3 separate regions of the Homo sapiens genome follow, and regions 2 and 3 are each linked to region 1. The links are contacts of gene promoters, found by promoter capture Hi-C in human tissues and cell types (Jung and others, 2019). All regions are on one chromosome and are shown on one strand. The core of a region is centred on a gene start or on the middle of the fragment in contact, and the rest is flanking DNA. Distances in the headings are between cores, read along the strand shown. Region 1 holds the start of TMEM244 (transmembrane protein 244). Region 2 has its middle 31 kb from the start of SAMD3. Region 3 overlaps ARHGAP18 (Rho GTPase activating protein 18).

Region 1 (3,134 bases), core at 447-2,946:
AGTTTAGCAGTCCTCATACTTGGGCTTTCTTCCCAGTTCTTGTGCTATTTTCCCAGACAGCAAATTAATTAAATGGCCTTTGGCCATGACTCTTTCCCTTGAGTCAGCTTTTCTGTCATTTAAAGTGTACAGATAGGGGGGATTTAATTAGCCCAATGCCTGGCACATTGCATGCACTCAATAAATGTTTGTTGAGTATTCGAGTTATCTCTAGATGAAGGTCACTTTTGCTATTACTATTAATTTATAAGCATATCAGTAATTCTTGTGCTGATAATATTGACAGTGAACAAGCACTTAAAAGAAAAGTTAACTCATAACTTATAGGGATGTATCATGAGAATTCAGATAGTCAACAACCTATCTATTTTGAACATATTCACTATTCTTCTAATGTTCTAAGGCTCTAATTCTACACTTGAAGCTCAGATGATTCTAAGATAGTGAGGAACTGCAGCAACTATCTGGATATTTTCTCTGCAATGCGTGTGTGTGTGTGTGTGTGTGTGTGTGTGTGTGTGTGTGTGTGTCTGTCTGTCTGGTCTGTGTAAGCCCCGACTAAATATAGAGCCCCCATTCTTTGTGTAAGCTACTTAAGAGAAAGGATTTTATCTTCTAATTTTTATCTCTTCAGCAGAAGTTATTATTGCTAGTTCAATCCCAAATCTATACATAAATTACGAAGTTTAATAACCCCTTAAAAATAAGCTTTTTAAAAATATTTTTCCTGAAATAATGTTTTACTGACCTTGAAAATTTTTCTTAGCTGTTGTCATGCTCAACATTTCTCACTGATGACATATGTGGTGATGATGGTAGTGTAAAGAAAAAGCTTGAGGAAATACACACGGTGCTGATATTTTACTAAAATGAATGTAGCACTCACTCATAATTGTAATTTAATTTTTAAGTAAAAATCTGATTTTCCACTATCATTCCCTTAAGTCTGGCTCATTATAGGCCTAAAGCCTGTATGAATTTACACAGCTGCTTTGAGGCTTTGCATATTTCCTTGTTTTCGATTGTTTGATTTTTTTTTAAAGGGGTATTTTTGCACTGAAGTAAAACACAACTATTAACACTAGCCTCGGGGGAAAAAGAAACTAACAAACCTACAGCTTGAAATGTTTCAACACTTTGCATTTAAAATTTTGCGCACCCTTTAGAAGTTACAAAAATAAAAGCCACTCCCTGCAAAAAAAAAAAAGAAAAAAAGATTGAGAACAAACTGTCATGATTTCAGAAAACGATAGCAGACGTGCAGGTGCTAATACCAGAGAGCTTACCTCCGAATAAAATGGTGCCTTCTAAACAGCGACTATTTACATGTTTTAGAATCCTTTCTTGGGCATGGGTGCCTTTATATTGCCCTATTACCACAAGATGCAAGCCGTGCAGCAGAATGTTTTCTGTATGGTACCCAGCCAAAAGTGAAACAAGTTGCCCACTGACAGAGAGGCCATTTATAGAACATATTCATTTACACCAGTGCTAGGCAGCAACTGAAAGGCAATGCAAAGAAGTAATTTCTCTTTACCTTGCTTGGAGCAACTCTGACCTGGAGAGCCATGTACACATCCTACGTCAAGGAGGTGATGAAAGCCCCACTCCTTATAGCGATGACATCTGGAAGAAGACACAATTGTCACCGTGAGCTTTTCAATTACTCCTGGAGACTAAGTGTGAGACGCAGTAGTGCAGGATGATTGGATTACGCAAAACGAGACAGATGCCATCTGTGAGCCACGCGTAAGCTGCTAAGTGCCAAAATGAACATCCTTATTAAACGATGGAGTTCTCATACCATTTGTAGTTTGGTCAGATTTGAAAGATGAGTTGATTGTTTTTAGATAGTGCGGCAAATAGGCAGGGACTTGGAATCCTCTCTGGCTGTATGAGTAATTACTGTCTCATACTTAAATTAGAAACATGGGTTTTCAGTTAGGTCTTGAGATTGTTTCCAAAGGATGCTGCTGCATTCATGTTGAAGCGTGGCCTGTCCTCTCTGTTTCACTCACAAGGGCCACAGAGTTCTGAGAAAGAAATCATCAGTTCCTTTCACATCATGGCAAAGAAATGTAAAACTTATGACTTTTTGTTAGGAAACAAAAGGGTTCCCATACTCTAAAATAATGGCCACAATATTGTGGGTAGAATGTTTTCAAGAACTGCCAGGAGGCAGTATTGGAGCTCTGTCTCTCTGCGTCCTGAGGCTCCAGAACCAATCCTTCATTTACAATTCATTCTCCCATCTTTTTACTGGCACCAACTCTATTATTATTTTTATTTTAATTTTTAATTGCTGTGATTACATAGTAATATAGTAATATACCCCATAGAGTTTATGGGGTACATGATATATTTTGATATAGGCATCTAATATGTAATGATCACATCAAGGTAAGTGGGATTTCCATCACCTCAAGCATTTATTCTTTGTGTTACAAGCAATCCAATTATACCCTTTTAGTTATTTTTAAATGTACAATTAAATTATTATTGACTATAGTCACTCTGTTGTGCTATCAAATACTAGATCTTATACATTCTCTCTCTTTTTTGTATGCATTAACCATCCCCACACTCCCCCTTTTCTCCCACTACCCTTCCCAGCTTCTGGTAACCATTCTTTTACTTTCCATCTCAATGAGTTCAATTGTTTCCATTTTTAGTTCCCACAAATAAGTAGGAACATATGAAGTTTGTCTTTCTGTGCCTGGTTTATTTCACTTAACATAAGGACCTCCAGTTCCATCCATATTGTTGCAAATGACAGGATTTCATTCTTTCCTTTGGCTGAATTCTATTCTGTACCTGTACCACATTTCTTTATCCACTTGTCTGTTGATGGACATTTAGGTTGTTTCTTAATCTTGGATATTGTGAAACATGCTGCAATATACATGGGCATGCAGATACCTCTCCGATAGACTGATTTCCATTCTTTGGGGTATATGCTCAGCAGTGGGATTGCTGGATCATATGGCAGTCCTATTTTTCTCTTTTGAGGAACCTCCAAACTGTTCTCCATAGTGGCTGTACTAATTTACATTCCCACCAGCAGTGTATGAGGGTGTCCTTTTCTTCACATCCTCACCAGCATTTGTTATTGCCTGTTTTGGGATAAAAGCCAT
Region 2 (3,134 bases), core at 351-2,850, 390 kb after region 1:
TTTCTCTATTTTAACAGTCTTTGCTTTCCTTTACATCTCATTTTTTTTCTTCCTGAAATAGATATTTGTTCATAAGAAATATGGGTACACTATCTTTTATTCAAAACTTTAGTTTAATTACAGAGAGAGAAAAAGAAAGAGTAAACCAAGTAGCTGCAAATAGCTCACTGGGGGGTGAAAACAAGGCAAATCACTTGGCCAAATCTTGCCCTCGTCTGATTTAAATTTCCGTAAAAACTTCAACTGACAAACTAAACCAGCTGCTGGTGTAAAGCTTTGTTACAACACTAGCTAAGAAAACACAAGTAGAAACTTGAAAGGGTTTCTGCCGCCTGAAGTGTCGTTTGTTTTTGGTTTCCTGGATTTGGGTTGGAATTCCTTTGTGGCAACCAAAACAGCTGTCCACTGGTAGGCTTAGCTTCAACTATTAATTCAGCTGTGGCACAGGAGCAAGCTTCAGAGATGCGCTCTGTGGAAGGGTTCTCTCGATCCCTGGAATTTTGGTGTTACATTCTCAGTCTATATTGGGTATCTGCTCTCCTGAAGAATCTTTGCTTTTTGGTAGGTTTTAAGACGATGACATTGGTAAAATTATTTTAGTCATAATTTCCATACTTACAGAAAACGCCATTCTTGATTAGCTGTTTACATTTCCAGTAATCAGACAGGTGAAGGCCATCTGGGTCAGGTTTTTTCCATGCCTCTGCAGGATTCTGTGTACATACTTTACACAACCTAGTGAAGTTCAGTTCATATTGTGCTGTATCCTTTCCTTAGCAATTGCGCAGGAGATGCAGTGTTATAAAACTTCACTACTTCCAGCACATCCTTTTCTGGGAACTCTTTATTAGTGACAAGTTTCCTGTGGTAGAAGTAATTTGAAATAAGACAAAAATAAGTGAGCTCTTTTTCTTATCCTTGTGTGAGTCCAGCTCTGGCTTCTCTCGGAGGCAGAAAGAATAGAGGAAAACTTCAAGTTCTTGTGAGTCTGGGTGCAGTCCTTGTTTAGTTGGAACCAGTGGGCTACAACCATCTTGAGCTACTACCTAAAATTCTTTTTCAATAGATGAGCTTACATTTATTGATATGATAATATCTTTAATTCTAGGTATTTACCTTGTGTGTTATTTTGAATATTTTAGGGCTTAAAAATCATTAACAATGTGATCCATTTTCTTGTCTTATTTGCAGAAGTCTTCTGACAGTTAAGAGAACTTGCATTTTTCTATAATTTTATAAATATAACTCAACAATGCTATATTTATAGAATATAAGATTTTAAATATGTGTTATATGTATAATTTTATATTCTCACCTTTTAAAGTAAATATCAATGCTTTCTATTTTAAGAAATAAATTAGTGTAATATTTCCTTCTATTTCTTCCTTGCCACCAAATTAAAATTATTATTTTTTTTTGGTGGAGGGGGGTATATCTTTGTACTAATAAATGTGCTTATACCTCTTTTATGTGATTTTTCATCATTAAATAATGTTATTTACCCCTTACCTCTCCTCCTGTTATTAGTGTATCTTCATTGTTAGGGTATATAACATTTAAATTCTCTCCTGTTACTGTATTGCTCATGTTTGTTTTGGTCTGAGGTCTGTAATTAGATACATTCAAAATGTCCCAGTAAGCATTTTGCTGTAGTTACCCATCTTTTTTTTTGAGACAAAGTCTCACTCCTGTCACCCAGGCTGGAGTGCAGGAGCAAGATCATGGCTCACTGCAGCCTTGACTTCCTGGGCTCACTTGATTTGCCTACCTCAGCTCCCAAGTATCTGGGACTACAAGTGTGTGCCACTACGCTCAGCTAACTTTTTGTATTTTTATTTATTTATTTATTTATTTTATTATTATTATTTTCTGAGACAGAGTTTTGCTCTTATTGCCCAGGCTGGAGTGCAGTGGCGTGATCTCAGCTCACTGCAAGCTCTGCCTCCCAGGTTCAAGGAATTCTCCTCCCTCAGCCTCCCGAGTAGCTGGGATTACAGGTGCCCTGCCACCACACCTGGCTAATCTTTTGTATGTTTGATAGAGACAGGCTTTGGCCATGTTGGGCAGGCCACTCTCGAACTCCCGACCTCAGGTTATCCACCCACCTCAGCCTCCTAAAGTGCTGGTATTACAGGCATGAGCCACCGAGTCCTGCCTTTTTGTATTTTTAGTAGAGATAAGGTTTTGCCATGTTGCCCAGGCTGGTCTCAAATTCCTAGGCTCAAGCAATCTGCCTGCCTTGGCCTCCCCAAGTGCTGGGATTACAGGTGTAAGCCAGTATTGAATACTGCTGTGAAGAGTTTGAAGCCAGCCTGATTTTTCCTCCTTATACATAACTGGATAGTTTTGCTTTGTTTCTCAGATGATTCTTCATTACTCTTTTCTTGTGATATCTTTGTCTGGCTTTGGAATCAAGGTAATAGTGGCCTCATAAAAGGAGTGTCAAAGTATTCCCTCCTCTTTGACTTTTTGGGAAATTTTTGAAGAATTGGTATTAGTTCTTCTTTAAATGTTTGGTAGAATTGGCTTTTAAATTTTCTGGAGGTGTACAGTTGTTTATTTTATATCTTTCTTCTTTTTTGATGTAAATAATCATTGCTTAAAACTTTCCTCTTCAAACTGTGTTTGTGGCATTTCATAAGTTTTGGTATGTTGTGTTTCCATGTTTGTCTCAAGATATTGTTTCAATTTCTCTTTTAATTTCTTCATTGACCTATTTGTTGTTCAGGAGAATGTTGTTTACTTTCCAAGTATTTGTAAACTTTCCACAATTCCTCTTGTTATTGACTTCTAGTTTCATACCATTGTGATCAGAAAATGGTACTTTATATGATTTCAGTTTTCTTAACTTTGGTAAGAGTTGTCTTGTGGTCTAAGATATGATCTATCGTGAAGAATGTTCTGTGTGTGCTTAAAAAGAACCCATATTCTGTTGCTGTTGGATGTAATGTTCTGCAACATCAGTTAGGTCCATTTGATCTAAAGCATTGTTTGAGTCCAGTGTTTCCTTATTAATTTTCTATCTGGATGATCTGCTCATTGTTGATAATAGGGTATTGAAGCCCCCTACTATTATTGTATGCAATCTATCTCTCTTTTCAGATCCTTTAACATTTGCTTTATATATTTATGTG
Region 3 (3,134 bases), core at 410-2,909, 280 kb before region 1:
GTTAAATGTACCCAATAGGTAATAAAAGTATCACACCTGTAAATTAAAATAAACAAATGGAATTATACATCTGAAGGCAAAGTAGTAAACCAGTATCTAAATTTGTAAAATTCAAAAGAAAAGTTAATGTAACATTTCCGCTGCCAATCAAATTATTAATATGATTATCCACTTTGTATACAAGCCAAAATGGTCCTCATAAAACTATTAAATGTTTCCACTTTAGTTTTCACATTACTCTTATTCAATAAGTATTTATCATGGGTTTGCTGTGCTGACAACTCCAGTAGTGTGCAAGATGCATGTGAAGAATAAGACATGCTTCTGACTGGGTGTGAAGGCTCATGCCTGTAATCCCAGCACTTTGGGAGGCCAAAGCAGGTAGATCGCTTGAGCCCAGTCTGGGCAACATGGCAAAACCCCATTTCTACCCAAAATACAAAAAATTTAGCCGTGCATGGTGGTGAGTGTCTGTGATCCTAGCTACTCGGGAGGCTGAGGTGGGAGGACTGCTTGAGCCCAGGAGATGGATGTTGCAGTGAGCTGAGATTGTGCCACTGCACTCCAGCCTGGGTGACAGAATGAGATCCTGTCTCCAAAAAGAAAAAAAAAAGAATAAGCCATTCTCTTCTGTCAGTTGTGCAAATGAGGGCAGCACAGACCCTCAGAGTGGAAGCAAATTATGTCATTATCTTTCTGTAAAAGAATTACCTGAGAAACCTGCTAAAAATTCAGATGGAGAGCTCTAGAAACTCAGATTTAACTGGTCTAGGATAAAGCCCAAGAAACTGCTTTTCAAATGCTCTATAGTGGATTCTGAAGCATGGCAAGGTTAGTGGACCACTAAGATAAGGCCCTGAAGACACACTCTCTGGAACTGAGAAGAGAAAATCAGGTCTGACTTGTATTCAAGCCATTAGGAAGAGCATGGTACAGCAGCAGCGCTCCTCACCACCCATGGAATGGCTCATCTGGTTCTCCTCCTTTCTCTCCCTGCCCTGTGTCCCTGGCACACTGGACAGTCAGGGCTCTCTGGGCCCTCACGCTATGTTCCACCTGCTGCACTGCATCTGATCCACTTTGTTTCCAACTACAGTGTAGGTTTATCTTTTAAATTAAATAATTTAATCATTATTATTTTTGTTTTTAATCTAGTACATAACACAATCAACTACTATAGGTCTAAAGAGAGTCCCTATTTCTGTGAAAACCAAATTGAATGTTTCAGGAGACTTGATTTAAAGAAAAACATCTAGTTAGATATTGCTGTCAGACTGATTCTCAAGTACCTGTGTTCTACTTTAAAGAAACAGGAACTAGATTTCCTGGTATATTCAGATTTTTGCGTAATGCTAATCAACAAATTCATCGTTAAAGGCAACAATCCTTTACCAAAGAATGAATGAACGTGCGATTTATTATACATATATTGTATATCATTCATATGTCCATTGGCTTCAGTTGACGAGGTGGGGGAGAAAAAGAATGGAAGGATATAGAGTTTCTACCTGCCCCAGCACAGGTGGAATACAAATGGAAGAAGCACAGGAATGTGGTGGAAGAAATATATAAACATTTACTCAGAATTTCACTTACTATGCGGCCCAGACAGACAGTGCTATATGCTGCATGGTCATTTTCCTAGTTAATTACAATAATAGATGCTATTCTGGTCCATTCTTACAAATGAGGAACTTGATACTTAAAGAGATGATAAAAACTAACTGAAGGTGAAACAGAAATAGTTAGCTTTGAAATCCAGATTACATCCCCAAGCATAAGGAAAGGGGCTGAGGACTGGGGGCGGAAGTGAGGTAAATGGAGAAGTTTACCAGACTTCCATCTAGGTGGAGAAGGAATAGGAGGAAGAGCGGGATGAAGATACCCTGCTCTGGGGGTAGCAAATGCTTATTTAATACAAACACCACAAGCAGAAAATCCAAATTTGTCAGACGATAGTTGTCACAAGTTGGTGCTTTCTATAACAATATGACTATGATTGTTTTCATGCTATACCTTAAATATTAAAGTCACAGTTGAATGTGGGGTACAGCTTCATAGTCTCATATTATTAGCAAGTAGAGGAACAAAAGTACAGACTAAATTGAGCACTTGGGTCCTGAAAGTAAATGTAAATTAACTGTGTCTGGCTGGAAAGAGCTGCTTATATCTGAAGTCTGGCCAGGTCTTCAGGTACACGTTCTGGGAGAGAATGAGAGCATGGCTGGTGGGAAGAATGGCAAAAGTTAGTATCTACTAAGTCAAGGTAGGGAGCAGAGAGGATGTGGATTGACTTTGCAGAAACTGCAAGACACTATAGGGAGCAAAGACATCTGAGATCTTCCAAGTGCCCTCAGGACATAATCTCCAAAAACACATCTACTCTCAGTCTCTGCACTAGTGGTTCCCAGATCTATGATGCTCTGTAGATCCTCCAGCCAGTGTGGAGAATGGTTAAGGGACTACCTTTGGAGGGAAACCACAGATTTAGAATTCCAGCTCTACCACCTATGAAAAATGTGTGACCTTGTAAATCTCTGTTTTCTTATCAGTGAAGCAGACGTAATAATAGCACTTACTTCAGAGTGCTGTTCTGAGGGAAGTTTACACTGGCTTATTGAAGCCTAGATATTACCAATAAGCCTCTCTCTCATTTCATCACCATCTGTTAGCTGCACAGATTCATCCTTTCTCCCAATTTATAAACCCTATGGGAAGGTACTTTAAAATATATGTTTATACCTCCCCTTCCAATTATGGTACTAGAAGTATTTAACATGTTTCTGTTCTGTTTAAGGCCTTGTGCTTTAGCAGAAAGCTTGATTGAAGCCCCCAAATGTTAGAATGAGGAGATTAAATTCAATGAAAGACCAAGACAGAGTATTCGTAAACTGAGATGCCAATGCCCTGGATGTCCCTCTGTTTTTAAACATTTAGTTTATTTCAGTGACTGAAAATGAGGCTGGAGGAGGCATGAAAACATGACTTCAGCTAAAAGAAAGAATTCAAAGGGCAAAACCTGAAAATACAATATACTTGTTAGGATCTCTAAAATATAAGAAGACACTGCAAAGTGTTCTGGAAAGGGCATACTCTAATATAGTGAGAGGGATGCTAGCAGCTTTCAAATGACT

Evidence for each region. The method cuts DNA at HindIII sites, captures the fragments that hold promoters and counts their contacts. A contact is called where the count stands out against the background at its distance.
Region 2: a contact is called between a fragment that was not itself captured here and the fragment with the promoter of TMEM244 in region 1, in 1 of the 25 tissues and cell types used here (H1 embryonic stem cells).
Region 3: a contact is called between a fragment that was not itself captured here and the fragment with the promoter of TMEM244 in region 1, in 2 of the 25 tissues and cell types used here (aorta and hippocampus).

What each region holds. Positions count from the first base shown.
Region 1 is chr6:129,859,619-129,862,752 of GRCh38, forward strand. TMEM244 (transmembrane protein 244) reads right to left here and starts at 1,697. Exons shown (of 5, transcript NM_001010876.2): 1 at 1,538-1,697. The coding sequence starts at 1,570. All of the region lies in intron 2 of LOC105377999 (a long non-coding RNA gene), which reads left to right. The HindIII fragment of the contact is 10,214 bases long and covers 1-3,134 here.
Region 2 is chr6:130,252,340-130,255,473 of GRCh38, forward strand. It overlaps a transcript of SAMD3 not described here. Among named protein-coding and RNA genes, the nearest start is that of SAMD3, 31 kb to the left of the region's middle. The HindIII fragment of the contact is 7,672 bases long and covers 1-3,134 here.
Region 3 is chr6:129,580,279-129,583,412 of GRCh38, forward strand. The region is part of intron 13 of ARHGAP18 (Rho GTPase activating protein 18); the gene reads right to left. Among named protein-coding and RNA genes, the nearest start is that of ARHGAP18, 130 kb to the right of the region's middle. The HindIII fragment of the contact is 6,052 bases long and covers 1-3,134 here.